2 separate regions of the Homo sapiens genome follow, and region 2 is linked to region 1. Evidence: promoter capture Hi-C in human tissues and cell types (Jung and others, 2019). All regions are on one chromosome and are shown on one strand. The core of a region is centred on a gene start or on the middle of the fragment in contact, and the rest is flanking DNA. Distances in the headings are between cores, read along the strand shown. Region 1 holds the start of ALOX15 (arachidonate 15-lipoxygenase). Region 2 has its middle 3.9 kb from the start of MED11.

The links. The method cuts DNA at HindIII sites, captures the fragments that hold promoters and counts their contacts. A contact is called where the count stands out against the background at its distance.
Region 2: a fragment that was not itself captured here is called in contact with the fragment with the promoter of ALOX15 in region 1 in 4 of the 25 tissues and cell types used here (H1 embryonic stem cells, IMR-90 fibroblasts, dorsolateral prefrontal cortex and 1 more).

The regions. Positions count from the first base shown.
Region 1 is chr17:4,640,239-4,642,938 of GRCh38, reverse strand. It overlaps ALOX15 (arachidonate 15-lipoxygenase), which reads left to right and starts at 1,261. Exons shown (of 14, transcript NM_001140.5): 1 at 1,261-1,422. The coding sequence starts at 1,288. The HindIII fragment of the contact is 22,491 bases long and covers 1-2,700 here.
Region 2 is chr17:4,726,150-4,728,849 of GRCh38, reverse strand. No RefSeq gene overlaps it. Among named protein-coding and RNA genes, the nearest start is that of MED11, 3.9 kb to the left of the region's middle. The HindIII fragment of the contact is 5,027 bases long and covers 1-2,700 here.

The DNA of each region.
Region 1 (2,700 bases), core at 12-2,511:
GGGTGGATCACAAGGTCAGGAGTTCAAGACCAGCGTGGCCAACATGGAGAAACCCCGTCTCTACTAAAAATACAAAAATTATCCAGGCATGGTGGCAGGCGCCTGTAATCCCAGCTACTCGGAAGGCTGAGGCAGAGAATTGCTTGAGCCCGGGAGGCAGAGGTTGCCGTGAGCCGAGATCGTGCCATTGCACTCCACCCTGCATTCCAGGGTGACAGAGTGAGACTCTATATCTCAAAAAAAAAAAAAAAAGGAAAGCTAATTCACTCTGGTGGGGTGGTGGGGGGTGAAAGTACCGGGTAAGACTTTCCTGAGAAACCGGAGGTGAACTAGGGTTTAGAAGCATGAATAGATGAATAGACTAATCCAGGAGCAAGTTCTTTTGAGAGAACAGCAGGTGGGGTTCTGGGGAACACATGGCTCCAGCCCAAAAAGAAACTGGAGACGAATTAGGGTTTAGAAGCATGACCAGACTAACCCAGAAGTGAGTTCTTTGAGAGAACAGCAGGGGCGGCGGGGGGAGGGGGGGTTCCGGGGAACACATGGCTCCAGCACAGGAGATGCCAGGGTGCAGTGGGATGAGAGGTGAGGAGAGCAGGTCAGGTTAGCAAGGGCATTGAATGCCAGAAACATTTGGACTTTTATTCTGCAGGCAACAGGGAGGCAGCGGCTTTTATGCTCAAAAGGAATGAGTCCCAGTGGCTGGCACAGAGAAGGCAAGTGTGCAAAGCTGGTCGAATGAATTCCGTGGCCTGAATGTACCTTCCTCAAATGCCACTGCAAACTGGGTCTCCTCGCCCACTTCACCCTCTCCTGCAATCCAACTTGTGAGGCTTGTGTGTGCGCGCGCGTGTCCTTGCGTGTGTGTGTGTGTGCACGCGTGCGTTTAGATGGAGGTTGGCTTCCCAGCCACCCAGGCTTGGCCCAAAGTCCGTGGTACACACGTGCATAACTCCTACCCCCACCTCGCCTGCCTGCTGTACCAGGCGTTGATTCCCTCTTCCTGCGTGTTTTCGGTCCAAATCCTTTTCTTTTTCTCCCTCCCGTCAAGATAGTGGTTTCCACTCCCTGCTCTCGCCAGGACACCGCCTTTTGGACTGGGGCTGAATTCTGCCCCTTGAAGCTCTGCTCCTTGGAGCTGGGGGCCCCAGCGGTAGGCGGAGTTGATTGGAGACCTGCCACCCACATTCCGACCCCAAGCGACCTCCGAGAGGGCGGGGTCTCAGGCTGGGTTATTTAGCTCGTCCACCCTTCTCCACCAGAAGGAGCGAAACATCTTTGAGCAAGATGGGTCTCTACCGCATCCGCGTGTCCACTGGGGCCTCGCTCTATGCCGGTTCCAACAACCAGGTGCAGCTGTGGCTGGTCGGCCAGCACGGGGAGGCGGCGCTCGGGAAGCGACTGTGGCCCGCACGGGGCAAGGTGAGCTCCCCAGAGCCGGGCGGGGTGGGCTGCGCCCCTGGCTCCGAGTCAGTCAAATACCGGGGAGGACATGCGCCCCCGTTGGCCTCTGGCCGATTCTCTTTGCCAAGGGCCCGCGCATTGGGCTCAAAGCGCGCGGAGGCCACGGGGGTGGGGGGCTTTAGGGCAGTCGGTGGCACACAGTAAGCGCTCAATAAATGTTGCCGCTACCCGATCTCCTTGGAATTGAGGGCATGCTCCTGTGCGCCCCTCATTGCACAAAGCTCCCTTGTCTGGAAACTCAGCAGTCACTGGAGCCGCCGTCGGTCCTCTCGCTTTCTCTATTTTAAAAACCGTTTCAACCGCTAGCGCTGTTGGATCTCTACCTTTCAGGCTTTATCACCTGGGGTGGAGTGGGTGGTGAGAGGGAAGGGATGGGGAGTCAAGACAGGAGAACGCTCTCGATTTCCCGACCCACCTCCCGTCATATCTCATGTCACATCTACCGGGTGTTCTACCCGGTCCTGTTAACTTTTTTTCTTCCGCGAAAGCCCAAATTCCCATCACTGCTCTAGCTCTCTCCCAGATCCCCAAATCCGGATGTCTGTCTCAGGGAACGTCAAAGCAACATGCCCGGATGAGGTCCTCCCCTCTCCCCACCTCCCAGCCCTCTCCTCCTGCCTCCCCCGGTGTCACCCGCGCCTCCTTCCTCTCTTCACCTCCCTCTAAACAAGAATCCGGCGCAGTCAGTTCTAGACCCTGAGCATCTCCCGCGTCCCTGCCCAATATCCGTCCCGCCCCCGACCGCCCGCGTCCTCTTGAACCTGCGGAGCCCTGCTCCCCGCACTCCACGCCCTTGCTCCGAGCTTCCGAGAAAGCGGGGCAAAGGGAGCCAGGAAGAGAGAAAATGCGCACGGAGCAGGTGGCCCCGCGACTCCATGGTGAGGGGACGGGGCACGGAAGGTGGAAAGGCGCGCTCCCTCCTCCCTTTTTTCCTCCCTATGGTGGGCAGTTGGTGACACACAGTAAAGGCTCAATAAATGTTCCCGCTACTCGATCTCCTTGGAATTAAGGGGATGCTCCTGAGCGCCCCTCATTCCACACAGCTCTGGTGCCTGGAAACTGCGGTCGCCGGAGCGGTCGTCGGTCCTCCCGGTTTCTCTATTTTAAAAGCCATTTCAAACCTCCAGCGGCCTCGCCACCTCTGCTGCAGACCTTCCAAGCCCTTCTGAAGCCGGAATGATTTCTCCCTAATTCACTCCCCCTGCTTAACACATTCGAACGGCTCCCGCTTGTTCT
Region 2 (2,700 bases), core at 1-2,500, 86 kb before region 1:
TCAGTCTCCAAAAAAGAAAAACAGAGATTAAGTGAAAGTTTAGGGCCAGGTGAGTTGGCTCATGCCTGTAATTCTAGCGCTTTTGGAGGCCAAGGCAGGAGGATCACTTGAGCCCACGAGTTTTAGACCAGCCTGGGCAACATAGTGGGACCCTAACTCTACAAAAAGTATAAAAATAGTCCCAGCCACTTGGAGGGGCCTGAGGTGGGAGGATTGCTTGAGCCTGGGAGTTGAGACTGCAGGGAGTCCTCATCACGCCTCTGCTCTCCAGCCTGGGTGACAGAGTGAGACCCTGTATCCAAGAAAAAACAAAAACAAAAACGAAAGTTTATATAGTGAGTGGTAGTTTCCAGAACTCCAGCACAAGGCTTATACTTTCCAGGTAAGAGACTGGAAGACTCTTCTCTGGGGAATTTGGTAAGTGAGAAAAGACCTTACGATGTGAACGTCAGGGGTTCTCCAACCAGTCAGTTGGCCAGATCACCTCATACTGAAACTCACAGTTGGCAAGTCCCAACTGTGTACATGGAAATTCTAGTCAACTTCTTGGCACCTCACTCTTTTTTTTTTTTTTTTAGTTTCTTGAGATAGGGCCTCTCTGTGTCACCCAGGCTAGAGTGCAGTGGCGCAATCATAGGTCATTGTAGTCCTGAACTCCTGGGCTCAAGTGATCTTCCTGTCTCAGCCTCCTGAGTAGCTGGGACTGCAGATGTGAGCCACCATGTCAAGCTAAGCACCCGCTCTTAAATGTGAGCAGAAAGCAAAAATTTCTAGGTATGTAAAGAAACTTTCTAACATGAAAGACAGAAACCAAAATAAAAAGGGGGAGGTGGGGACAACTGTTGAAGCTTTTAGGTAAGAGATAGTATAAAACATGATTGAATCCGAAAAAGCATCCTTGGCTGGGCATGGTGGCTTATGCCTGCAATCCCAGCACTTTTGGAGGTCGAGGCGGGAGGATCACTTGAGGTCAGGAGTTCAAGGCCAGGGTCGGTATAGAGCTTTTCATTCCAGAGTCAGGCTCTCAAGGTAATTGGCAGAGAGCAATGCCAACATTTTATTGAAAGTAGATGTTGTTGCTATTGTTTATGTGTCCAGTAGGGTTGGTCCTGAGGGAATTTAAATGATGGTGCTACATTTCTTGATCCCTTCCTCCACAAACATTATTTTCAGAAGACTAGAAGGTATCAGTAACACTGCAATTTGGAGCAAGACTCCATCTCAAAAACAAAACAAACAAACAAACAAAACACCCTTGAAAAATCAAACCATGAGGGAAGTAATGAAAAAAATCTGTCACACAAGCCAGGTGTGGTGGCTCATGCCTATAATCCCAGCACTTTGGGAGGCCGGGACTGGCGGATCACCTGAGGTTGGGAGTTGGAAACCATCCTGGCCAACATGGTGAAACCCCATCTCTACTAAAAATACAAAAATTAGCTGGGCGTGGTGGCACGCATCTGTAGTCCCAGCTACTCAGGAGGCTGAGACAAGAGAATCGCTTGAACATGGGAGGCGGAGGTTGCAGTGAGCTGAGATTGCACCATTGCACTCCAGCCTGGGCGACAGAGCGTGACCCTCTCTCAAAACAAAAAAAACAAACAAAAACAAAAATCATGAAGTTGCCAAATAAGCATGTTTAGAGATAGGGAGGTAAATGCCAAAATAAACATCTAAAGGTGGTGAAAGTAGGCCAGGTGTAGCCTGAGCAACGTGAGGATACTCCATCTCTACAAAAAATAAAAAAACTGGCCGGGCGCGGTGGCTCACGCCTGTCATCCCAACACTTTGGGAAGCCACGGTGGGTGGATCACCTGAGGTCAGGAGTTCAAGACCAACCTGGCCAACATGGTGAAACCCCGTCTCTACTAAAAATATAAAAACTAGCTGGGCATGGTGGTGGACACCTGTAATCCCAGCTACTCGGGAGGCTGAGGCAGGAGAATTGCTTGAACCTAGCAGACGGAGGTTGCAGTGAGCCGACACAGTGCCACTGCACTCCAGCCTTGGCGACAGAGTGAGACTCTGTCTCAAAAAAACAAATTAATAAAATAATCAAAAAAGTTAAAAAAACTAGCTGGGCATGGTGGCTTGCACCTGTAGTCCCAGTTACTTGGGAGGCTGAGGTGGGAGGATCTCTTCAGCCTGGGGCATCGAGGAGGCTGCAGTAAGCTGTGATCATGCCAAGGGTGACAGAGCAAGACCCTGTCTCAAAAAAAAGGTGGTGAAAGTAGTTGCCTCTGAGGAGGAGGAAATTAGAGTGGGAAGGGTCTGCTTTTTATTGTAATAGGTCTTGTAGTACTATCTGATTCTTTATATGTATATATAACTTTGAAAACAAAAAGTAAAGAAAGAATGAAGAGTGAGAGAGGGCTGGGTGCAGTAGCTCATGCCTGTAATCCCAGCACTTTGGGAGTCCGAGGCGGGCGGATCATGAGGTCAAGAGTTCGAGACCAGCCTGGCCAACATGGTGAAACCCTGTATCTACTAAAAATACAAAAATTAGCTGGGTATGGTGGTGGGTGCCTGTAATCCAAGCTACTCAGGAGGCTGAAGCTGGAGAATCACTTGAACCCAGGAGGCGGAGGTTACAGTGAGCTGAGATCTCACCATTGCACTCCAGCCTGGGTGACAAGAGCGAAAATCTGTCTCAAAAAACAAAACAAAACAAAACCAAAGAAGAGAGGAAATAAAAAAGAG